2 separate regions of the Homo sapiens genome follow, and region 1 is linked to region 2. The links are contacts of gene promoters, found by promoter capture Hi-C in blood cells and fetal thymus (Javierre and others, 2016). All regions are on one chromosome and are shown on one strand. The core of a region is centred on a gene start or on the middle of the fragment in contact, and the rest is flanking DNA. Distances in the headings are between cores, read along the strand shown. Region 1 has its middle 18 kb from the start of ROPN1B. Region 2 holds the start of KLF15 (KLF transcription factor 15).

What was found. The method cuts DNA at HindIII sites, captures the fragments that hold promoters and counts their contacts. A CHiCAGO score of 5 or more calls a contact.
Region 1: a contact is called between a fragment that was not itself captured here and the fragment with the promoter of KLF15 in region 2, in 1 of 17 cell types (total B cells). The highest score is 5.1, in total B cells.

The regions. Positions count from the first base shown.
Region 1 is chr3:125,984,256-125,989,701 of GRCh38, reverse strand. It overlaps the pseudogene ALG1L1P. Among named protein-coding and RNA genes, the nearest start is that of ROPN1B, 18 kb to the right of the region's middle. The HindIII fragment of the contact is 231 bases long and covers 1,976-2,206 here.
Region 2 is chr3:126,354,501-126,359,748 of GRCh38, reverse strand. KLF15 (KLF transcription factor 15) reads left to right here and starts at 2,341. Exons shown (of 3, transcript NM_014079.4): 1 at 2,341-2,512. RefSeq lists a silencer at 2,162-2,381 and enhancers at 2,280-3,039, 3,040-3,799. The HindIII fragment of the contact is 4,432 bases long and covers 760-5,191 here.

The DNA.
Region 1 (5,446 bases), core at 842-3,341, 370 kb after region 2:
TTGTATTTTTAGTAGAGACGGGGTTTCACCATGTTGGCCAGTCTGGTCTCGAACTCCTGACCTCAGGTGATCTGCCCACTTTGGCCTCCCAAAGTGCTGGGATTACAGGCGTGAGCCACGATGCCCAGCCTCGTTTCTTTTTAATGGAGAAAAGAGCTACCCTTTAAAAATCTGTTACAATTAATGTCAAAGCCCAGGAACTAAAATATGTCCACCAATATATCACACACTTATCCTGAGTGATTTTAGGAAACTTGAGTATTTCACAGATTTAGTTTTGAATTAGATCAAACTGTGAAAACCTCTCCTTTCCTTCCCCAGCCCTCACATAACTTCATAACTTTCTAACATATTCACCTGAAATTAAGGGGTTTTTTTTTAGTTGTTGGTTTTTAAAAATTCATGTTGACTTTTCTTAATACATGTTTATTTTAGAAAATATAGATAAGCAAAAAAGGAAAAGACCACCCATAACCCCATTGCCCGTGAGTTATCACTCTGAACAGCTTGGTGCATTCCCTTCAAGATTTTTTCCACCTACGTATATATGTATAAATGTATTACAACAATATGAAATAATAGGTATTACTGTAACATGAGTGTTTTCTCTTAATATCTAATCAACATTGTTTCTCATTAATCTACAGTTATAAAATGGCTGCCTGGTGTTCCATGATTCATTTCCCTAGTGTTGGGAATGTTATGCCCCCACCCCACTTTTCATTTTGTTATTTGCTATTATAAATAATGTTGCAGTGAGCTGAGATCTGCAAATGAACTAGAGAGTGGAGAGCAGAGTATTCTAAAGATGTGGAGACAGCATGATGCTGAGAAAGAGAAACCCAGAGAGGCTCTTGCTGCTGAAGTATAGACAGTGGGGATGGAAATGTATGTAGGGCCAGACTATACAGTCCTCATAGGCTACATGATTTGGCTTATTATCCTAAGGCCATTGGGAATATGTAAAAGTTCAAGCAGGGGGCACAGTGAACTGACTGGGGTTTTACAAAGATCCATGGCTGTAGTGTAGAGCAGGAATCTGAAATCTACAGTCCCTGGCTAAATTCAGTCTGCCATTCTTGGATACAGCCTGAGAACAATTTTCACATTTTCAAGTAGTTTTTTTTAAGTGAAAGGAATAATATTTTGTGATGTGAAAAGTTACCTGAAAATCATCTCAGTGTTATAAAGTTTTATTGGAACACAGTCACACTAATGTGTTTACACATTATCTGTGCTACAACTGCCAAAGTTGAGTATTTGTGATAGAGACCACCTAGCCGGCCAAGCCTAAGATATTTACTATCTGTGCCTTTACAGAAGTTTGCTGATCACTAGCATAGAGGATGCTTGAGGGAAAGGCAAGTATGGGTGTGAGCAAGTTCTCTCCTCCTGCATCCATTCTCTGTCCTCCCCTTGGACCGACATCAGTCAGACATGCCCTCCAGCTTCAGGTTCTGTTTAGTCGATAGAAGAGGGAGAGAATGGGATATTCCTGCTATCTCAGCACCATTTGGCTGATGCACTGGCCCTCTGCATCATCAGGGGAGCCCCTGGAGCTCCAGTCTTCTCACACTGTAATAACATGTCCTTCTCTTTGTCTCTTCAGTCTTAGGGATGATAACGGTTTGCTAGTCCCTGGGTGCCTCAACCCCCTTGTTGTTTTCCTTGTCCATTCTGTAAAACTTTTAATTATCTTCAAAACTCTAGATTGTCTTCTGTTCCCTTTGAGGACCAGATTGATAGAAAGTCCAGATGAAATATATTGGTTGCTGGGAGGGGATGAGGGGACCTAAGGGAGGTGGTGGTGAGGGAAAGTGAAGAGGACATATTTGAGAGATGCATAGGAGATAAAATGGAGAGGACTTGGTGATAGAGTTGGAAAGTAAGGCAGGGGGAGGTATTTGTTGACCCTGGTTTCTGGGTTTTGTATCTTGGCAGATGGTGGGAGAGGTCCACATTTAGTAAGGAAGCTTATGAACTCATTTCTCTCCAACATTTTATTATGAAAAAAATGCAAACCAGGAAAGTCATTTTTGGATTTGTTAAATTAGGGAGTACTTTGGCGTCATCCAAGAAAAGATGTCAAGTTAGCTACTGTATAGTTGAGTCTGGAGCGTGGCAAAGATGTGTGGGCTGCAAATACACCTTTCTGAGTTGCCTGTGGCTTCCGAACTTGCTCTCAAATTACTTCCTCAAGAAAGCTTCTCTATCCTGCCCCTGCAAACTAGCTGTGTGCCCCATGCTTCTACGTAGTAGCATCGTTTCTCACAATTATAAACTTGTGTTTAGTTATGTAATGTCTGTCTTCCTAAGTATAATTTAATCTCTCTAAAAGCAGGGACTTCACCTTGTTCAGAGCAGTATCCCCAGTGCCTAGCACAATCCTTGCACTTGTAGGAATTTCTGAATTATTTGTTGAATAAACCAATGAATCAACTATTGTTTGGACTGCTTTGGTGCATTGGGGCTGACAGCTACTTGAATGTCCGAGGCTCGGGATTATCCAGGACTAGCCCTTTGAGCTTGGTCCGGAGGTTTAGTCCTTCTAGTATCATGGATACACAACTCTGCTTGTCTATCCAGTCTTTCATAATTCAGCACATTGAACCAATTACTTTGCCAATTGGCTCACCTCTGAAGTGTGAAAGTCTCTGTTCAGGTTTGACCATGTTCCAGTTTATAGGAAATGACCAAAGTTGAAAGTATATGAAGATCTAAACTAAAAACACCGATTTATGGCCAGGATCTAAGATTCAAAAAGTAAGAGGCTGTGGATAAGAAGTCACATGTTGGGAGCGTGAGCTCAGTTCTGCTTGGAAAGATCTGAGAGACTGTGCTGTTGTCTTTCCTCAAGCCATTTAGTGCTCTCTGGGGCTATTTTGAACCCAAAGGTTCTTGGCCTTTTGAGATAATATACAACTTTGAGAAATTGCTCAAAGCCTTATAATTTTTTCTTCAGAAAAATGCTAATGAGCACATTTTGGAGACATGGTTACATATATAATGTTATCAGAGGCACTCAGGAGCCTCTCCAAGGATTTCAGGTTAAGATTCCTATTCTAACCTAATTCAAAACCAGCCTTCCACATTGGGGTGTCCAGCTCCTTCTGTTGCAGGGCCCTGGTGATCCTGGAAGTAGTTGGTTAACTAGGGATGGTAGGTCCCTGATGGAATAGCATCAAGGAGAGGAAGGGCATGGAGCATAGAGAAAATGGAATTGGGCCATAATCTTTGCATTTCCCACTGAAGCTTATATATCTGCAGTCTTCACTTTAATCAAAATAGCTTAATTTAGGAAAGAAAGAGCCCACTGTTTTTGCTTTATAAAATCCTGATTTTATTGCTTCCTGAAATTTTTTTTAAAGGAGAAATACAAACCATACGTTGCAAGGGCCTTCGTTTGACAGTTTAACTGGGGTCATGCTAGGACTGTATAGATATTGCTGATTATGATAGGAAAGCCAGTGGGATGGGTCTGACAAGGATCTGTTGGCAGCAAGAATCAAGGGACCCCCTTTGGAATGATCCCATCACAAGGAAGAAATGGTTGGGGACAATGTGTCATGTTTGTGAGTCAGTTGTGAATTTTAATACAGCACAATGATGGTCACTTATTGCCCTGCAGACCCTGAAGACTTCTGCGTGACCCAAAGAAAGAAACATTAATAGTGATTAAAAAATGTTAAAACTTTGTTGTATTAAAATATCTGTAAGGCAGTGTAGCAGATGCAGGTGGCTTCTTATTGTGATCATCTATGACTTCCTGGCCGAGAGCCTTTTTCCTGGAGCAAAAGAAGCAAGCTGAGGCAAGCTGGAAAGGCAGAACATTAATTCACCTGGAAGAAGCCCTCAGTCAACGACAGGTGGGGATTATCCAGTGATGGATGAAGAGCTTCCTCACCCTTCGATTGGGATAACTCTGAGATGTGTTCTATGCTGTCTCCCAGAGTTCCCCAGCAGTATTGGAGTACAGGGGTAACTGGCTGGATAACACACCATTTATTAGCTTTCTTCCCATCACTATAATATCTTACTTTTCCTATCCCTATTCCCTGTTCCTGGGATCGCCTCCTAAAGAAACTATTTGCATGTAAATCTCTGTCTCAGGGATTATTTCAGGCTGGGGGTGGGAGGAATCCCATACCTAGACAGGCACTGAGGATATATACAAGGCATCATAGGTTTGGAGTCAGATCTGGATTCAAATTCTTTCTCACCAGTGACATTGAACAACTTAATTTATCTAAGATTGTTTGTTAGAGATAATGACACTGACCTCATAAGGTCATATTGTAAGGAAAAATTTGAGAATGTATAAAGCCGTGTACACAGTGGCTTACACATGGTAAGTGCTTAATAAATGTTGGGTATTATCATTAATACAGTATTTATAATATTGTTAATACAGCATAGCCCAGGTAGAGGGCAAAGCACAAAGCTGTTTTCCATCCTTGGGGTGACTGCAGAAGCAGGTTGATTTGGCAGATGTGCTGTAGATACTGTGTCCCTAGTGAGCAGCTGTGGCATAGCAATATCAATAGCTTAGAGCAAGCATTGCCCCAGTGAGCCAGGGCAGGAGAGGAGGAAGGTGGTGCACACCAAGTGGTGGCTCAAAAGATGAGCAATTGGCAGTGAACAATGGTATTGCCAATTGTGCTTAGTCTCAGTAAGCACGGATAGCTACAGCACCAATAACTTCATGTCTGTGTCTAGTATACACTTGGGTCGTTGGAATTTCATTAGCCTCACTCTTGAGGGATTATGTTCAAGGCTACCAAGACTAAGTTTCTGATTTCAACCTGTTTTCCCAAATGTACAAGGGACTCTTGCTTTTGTTACATTTATGAACCTAATTTGTTATTTTAAGGTCTTTCAAATTGGAGCTGTCTCTTCTGTCCCCCTTTATTCCCTATTTGCAGACAAGACCATATTTCAGTTCTTTGGCCACAGTGAAAGAGAAACTGAGACACCAAGAATCTGAGGCAGGTTAAAGGATTTCACTCGTTCTCTAATCCTGATTAATTACAGTGTCAGGTTTCACCTGTAGTGCTTCAGACTTCTCAAACAGCCTTAGGTTCCAGAGCAGATAGAAATGAGGGGCCACTCACATGTATACATATGTAACAAACCTGCACGTTGTACACATGTACCCTAGAACTTAAAGTATAATTTAAAAAATAAAGAAATGCGGGGCCACTTTGGCTAGGAAGGCAGACAGCAGGTAGCATTAGTTGTTGCCCATCCCCTGCAGGTGCAGCCCAGTGCTATGGGGGAAGAATTTGTTTCAGTCTCTTTTATTGTTTCACTCGAGTCAGAAATCAAGGACCATGGTAACATCCAATCACAATCTCCTCTTACCTTTAGACACTAATAGACAGATTTCTCCTCAATTGATGTAGAGAGACATATGCATGTAACATAACATGATTTTTGACCAAAAGCA
Region 2 (5,248 bases), core at 1,092-3,591:
GTCTGGGATAAGGTGGCATCTGAGCAGAGACCTGAGTATGCGATGGAGCAATCCATGCAGCTGTTTAGGGGGAAACAAGAGACAATAGAAGAACGTTTCCCTGAACGAAGAAAGACTTGAGTTTCCAGATTAAAAGGATACACCAAGCATAGAGTAGTAACAATGAAAACAGAAGGAGGCTAGAGTCAGACATATCCTGGTAAAATGTGTGAAATTCAAGCATGGAGAAAGATCACTCCAAAAAGGCACCAGGCCCAAATGGTTTTATAGGCAAGGTCATACAATATTTAACCAATATAATTTATATCCTTCCAAGGCCCTTTTCTATACTTGATTATGTAGAAGTAGGGAAGGAATTGCTTTGGAAGAAAAGAAACTTAGAGATTTTCACTGCTATGAAGATAAATCTTTACTGTTTTTGGTCATCTGTTTTGAAGAGCACCACCTGACTTTGTTCTCTCCTTTCTGCCAAGGAATCTCAATGATAGATTCTCCCCACTATATTGAGGGAGCTTTTCTCCTTAGATATGGTTTGGGGTAAATGCTGTACCTAGCTGTAGGGCATTAAAGATTGTGGTGAAAACTTGGGCTTTACTTACTCTGAGTGAGTTGGGAGCTGCTGGAAGCTTCTGAACCCAGAAGGGACCTGATCTGACTCAGGTTTTAACAGGACCATCTTGGCTGTTCTCCAGTTTCTAGCCAGTGGGGCCTCCTCCCTGTGTGCTGAAGGTGCTAACGATGTGTCTTTGCTTCCAAGCTTTTTCTGACCTTTTGCTGCAGCTTTCACCAAGGAGATGGGAGGCACTAGACTGAGAGTATGTGAGGAGTGAAGACCGAGGGCGGGCAGGGCAGATGGAGAAGTGCTGTGGCTATGCCCAATCCAGACCTGCACTGAGACAAAATGAGGAATACAGGCCTCTATCTCTTCTCTTATGAAAATGGACAAATTCCACTGTTCTGCCCAGGCTAGCCAGGGCTGCTGTAATGCCAGAGTGGTCATTCCAACTTCTGTGAACTAGAAAGCCTCTCACCATCCTCAACACAAATGTCCTTAAAGCCCTCTGGCAACGCATTGGTTTGGCTCCTAGTGGCAGCAGCAGCTGAATCCCTGGCACTGACCTGGTGCACAGTGTCCCCAGATCCCTGGTCAAGCAAGCCTAGACCTATAGCATTCCAGAGAGCCTGGAAAGGGTATGGTTAAAAATTCCTGTTCTAGCAATGTCTTCAAGAAGAAGCAGGAGAAAATGCTCCCCACCTCCCAGTGCCAGGAGGGGAGAGGAAGGAAGCTCAGTAGGACAGCTCTGCACAGGTGGCCTGGGGGTGTCTGCAAGATGACCTGGCTCTACCTCTCTACCTGCTCCTTCCCAGCTGTGGGGCTGGGGAGGGCTGGTGCCCTCTCTGAGTCGGTTTCTTCATCTGTAAAGTGCTTGGCTGAGGATCCAGCTGGAGTGTGGATTAAAGGGCACAGCAGGGTGCCTAGCACCGTCAGCCCACGTGTTTTTCTTGGGCAAGCCACTCTGAGCCTTACTCTTCCTGTCTCTAAGCGGGAACCCAAATGCGAGCCAGGATTGCTGCGGACTAAAGCAGTCTACGAACGCTTTTGTAGACTGCGAAGCATTGTTTGGTCTTCAGAAAGGTGCCCCAGAGACAAGGTGTCATTGGTTTCAGGTGGGGGGGGGGGGGGCCGGTCAGCAAACCTCCTTAGTCCTGGAGGGCAGGGTGGCAGCGCAGAGCGCGCGCAATTTCCGGAGGGTAACTGATTGTCCTGCTGAAAGCCCAATACCGTATTTATCCAAAAATACGTCCTTCTAGGCAAGTGATTTATCTGACACTCAGCGGGGGACAGAGCTGCTTGTACCGCGCTGGGGATGAAGGTGGGGACGTGGGCCAGACCGGGCCAGACAGGCTCCCCAGCGCTTCCCGCTCAATCACGCAGACTGCACTTTGGGGCGATCTCAGAGCTTTTCTTAAGTCTTCAGGCCAGTCTCACGTTCTCACCTTGGGAACCGAGCTTTAGAAGCCGGCCCTCGTGGACGCCGCGAGACAGCGGCGAGAGGTGGGAAGCAAGGAGGTGGCTGCGGGCCAGGGACCAGGCAGCGTGTTGGGGGGCGTGCGCGTCTGGCAGCTCCGGGATCCCCGAGCATCCGCCGCTCAAGTCCGGGAGCCGCGCGGGCGGGCCGGGGCGGGGCCAGGGCGGGGCCAGGGCGGGGCGGGACGTGTGACGCGCAGCGCGGGCCAATGGGGCGCGCGCCCGGGGCCGAGCCTCCTGCGAGCCTTCGCGGCGCCCGCTGCGTCACGTGAGCGGCGGGGAGTGAGTGCCCAGCGAGCTGCGGGCGGGCTAGTGCTCCGCCGCAGCGACCCGCGGGCCGGCGGGCGATCGAGCCAGCGCAGGACCCGCGGCTCGGCCCCCGGCCGCCGCCGGACCGAGAGTCTAGCCGCCGCCCCCAGCCCAGCCCGCCCGGCCGCAGGACCGCCGGGGCCTGGCCGCCGGTCCGGCGTGCGCCAAGTTCAGGTGGGAGAGGCGCGGCGGGGCCGGCCGGCCGCGTGGACGCGGCCCCGGGTGATCAGAGGGCTGGCCGGCCTCGGGGCGCGTGGCCGTGCTCCCGCGCAGCTCTCGGAGGCACCGCGCGAGTGCTGGAGGAATGTCGGAGGAGCGGGATGGGCCCCCGCGGAGGTGGGCAGGGGTCGGACTGGCCCGGGGGAGGTGACCCCCCCCGCCCCGGTCGCCCACCAGCACTTTGCTGAGGCCCGCGCCGCCGCCTCGGTGCCTGGCCGGGCGATTCCGTGGCGCGCCTTGCGGGCCGGCCCTCCCATATGGTGGGCACCGGCGCGGCCTGGTGAGAGGAGGGGGAGAGCGGACGCGCTGGCCAGCCCGGGGTTGGGGGGCGGAGGGGCTGGAGACGGAGGGGTTACTGTCGGTCACCGCAGCAGTGTCGGGGGCAAGGGGGGGGCGTGGGACGAGGGCATGGTGCCCAGCGGGCAGCGGTCCAGGACTCTAGAAGGGGTCTGAGCCGGCTCTCTTCATTTCCCACGCACGTTTCCCCTCACCCGCCGGCACCCACGGCGGCTCCACGCGCGAGTCCTTCGCGGACAGCCTCCCGCACAGCCACAGCGGCTGCCGCGCACCACGCCCCGCACACGCAGTCACACGACAGGAACTCACACCCCTTCACGCACACCCGCACCGTTCACGCGTCTCACTCCACGCTGAGTCCCCGTCCGCTCAGACCGAACATTACCAAAGCCATGGCCTGACCGAGGGATGGCGGCGGCGGGGCAGAGAGGCCGTCCCCATCCCATATGGTGGTCCGGTTCACTCTTCCCTCCCCGCCTTGGTGTTACTCATGGAACCCCCCTCTCACGGAGGGCACAGAGGGGCTGTTTTCTCCCACGGCCCTCGGAGGTGACAAAATCAACAATTGTTTGAGAGCCTCAAATCTCCTTCCCCCTGTCCCCCCGGACCAGGTGGCCCCTGGGGAGACCCTGCCGCCCTACAGGTGTGAGGACGCCCGGACTCTGCGACTTTGGGGCCTGCGGGCGGCTCAGGGACCGGAGACTCTTATTTTGAAGGACAGCCCCCGCCGCCACCCCCGTGATTTGCACGCTGACCCAATGGCAAGCCCTTGGCCGGCGCTGGGCTTGTTATCAATTACATGTTGTTCCTGCAGCCGCTGTGTCCCCGGGAGGATAAACAGCAGGCCTGGCCGGGCCAGGGGAGGGGGCGGAGTCCGGCGGCCAGCCGGGGACTGTGCCCGGAACAGCGTGTCCCCTCCCCCTGCACGCAGCCTGCGCCTCTGGCCGCCCCACGTGCTGCTGTGTTTCAGGGGCCGAGCCAGCTCCAGCCCTAGAGTGTCCTCTCTTTAATGCCGGTGCCCTGGGACATCCCAGAGCCCTTTCTGGGTTGTCAGTGCCTGGGTGCTTCCCCCTTGGGACGTTCAGCCCAGCATTAAGACCCTGTTGGCTGACCTGGGCCACCCATTCCTACTCTCCGACCTCCCCCGCTCTCCCCCGCACCTTCCATTCACTCATTCAGCAAATTTTGCCCGGTCCTGTTTTAGACTCTGGGATATGGCCTTGGAGTGAACAGTCAGGACAGCTGATATTCTGATGGGAAGGTAGACAGGGAGGAAAGTTCACAAACACATCACCAAGATAGTTTCCCACAGTAGAAACTGCAGGGAAGAGTATAATATAGGATGATGTAACAGAGTGGGCCTGGAGGCCCCCACAGGGGTGACTTCTGAGCCGAGATCTAACTAAGCAGCTCCCACCTGCAGTGCTGGGGGAAGAGCCAGGGCAGTGGCCCCGGGCTGAGGCTGAAGTGAAGTGAGCACACCTGGACTAGAAGAGAGGCAGTTGGTGGTGAGGTCTGCAGAGAGTCCCAAGGGCCCAGGTGCTGGGCTGCTGCGAGGAGATAGGGCCACCTGTCCTTGGGAAGCCATTGGAGGGTGTTTCCTTCCAGCCCCCCTACTGTACTTTTTAGATCACTTTATCTGTCAATATCTGTTTATATGTTTAAAAGGTAAGGCCTCCTTTAACCACAATATGATCATCACAATTAAAAATATTAACAGTAATTACTTAATATCATGGGATGGCCAGTTAGTGATCACGTTTCAGGGGAGGGCTCTAAGGCCTGCTCTGGGTCCCAGGAGGGCTGGAGGCCCCTGATTCCTTAACATCACAGTAGAGGGGCAGAGGCCGAACGTTTGCCGTGCCTGCAGGCTGACACCAATGGCTGGCACTGGCTGAGTGCTGCCGGTGTGCCAGATCCTGAGGGGGGTGCTTAGTGAGCGTCAGCTCACGGAATTCTCACAACACCTGAGGAACCAGGCACTGTTGGAAGCACCCCCATCTCACAGACTGAGACAGACACAGAAAGGCTGTGCACCTGCCTGAGGTCACCTGGCAGACAACTTGCAGACTCAGAAATGGAGCCCCTGCTTGGAGGGTGGGAAAGGGTTGGGGGAGGCCCAGGGTGGAGTGTGGGCTCTGCCCAGCCTTGTGCCCTTCACAGTGTCTAGCACTTTCATTCCTTCCCAGCACCTGATTTGGTGAATAGGTGCATTTTAAAACATATTCCAGGTTTAAATCCTTAGCTGAGTATTTAAACCAAAAAGCCAAATGTCCTCCTAGTAAAACTGGCCTGGGGCACAGACCTTGCCTTAGTTTCCTGGAGCTCCGTGAAGCTTCCTGGGTAAGTTGGGAACTGGGGCTAAAGGTCCTGGGGTCCCTGAGCAGGAAGAGA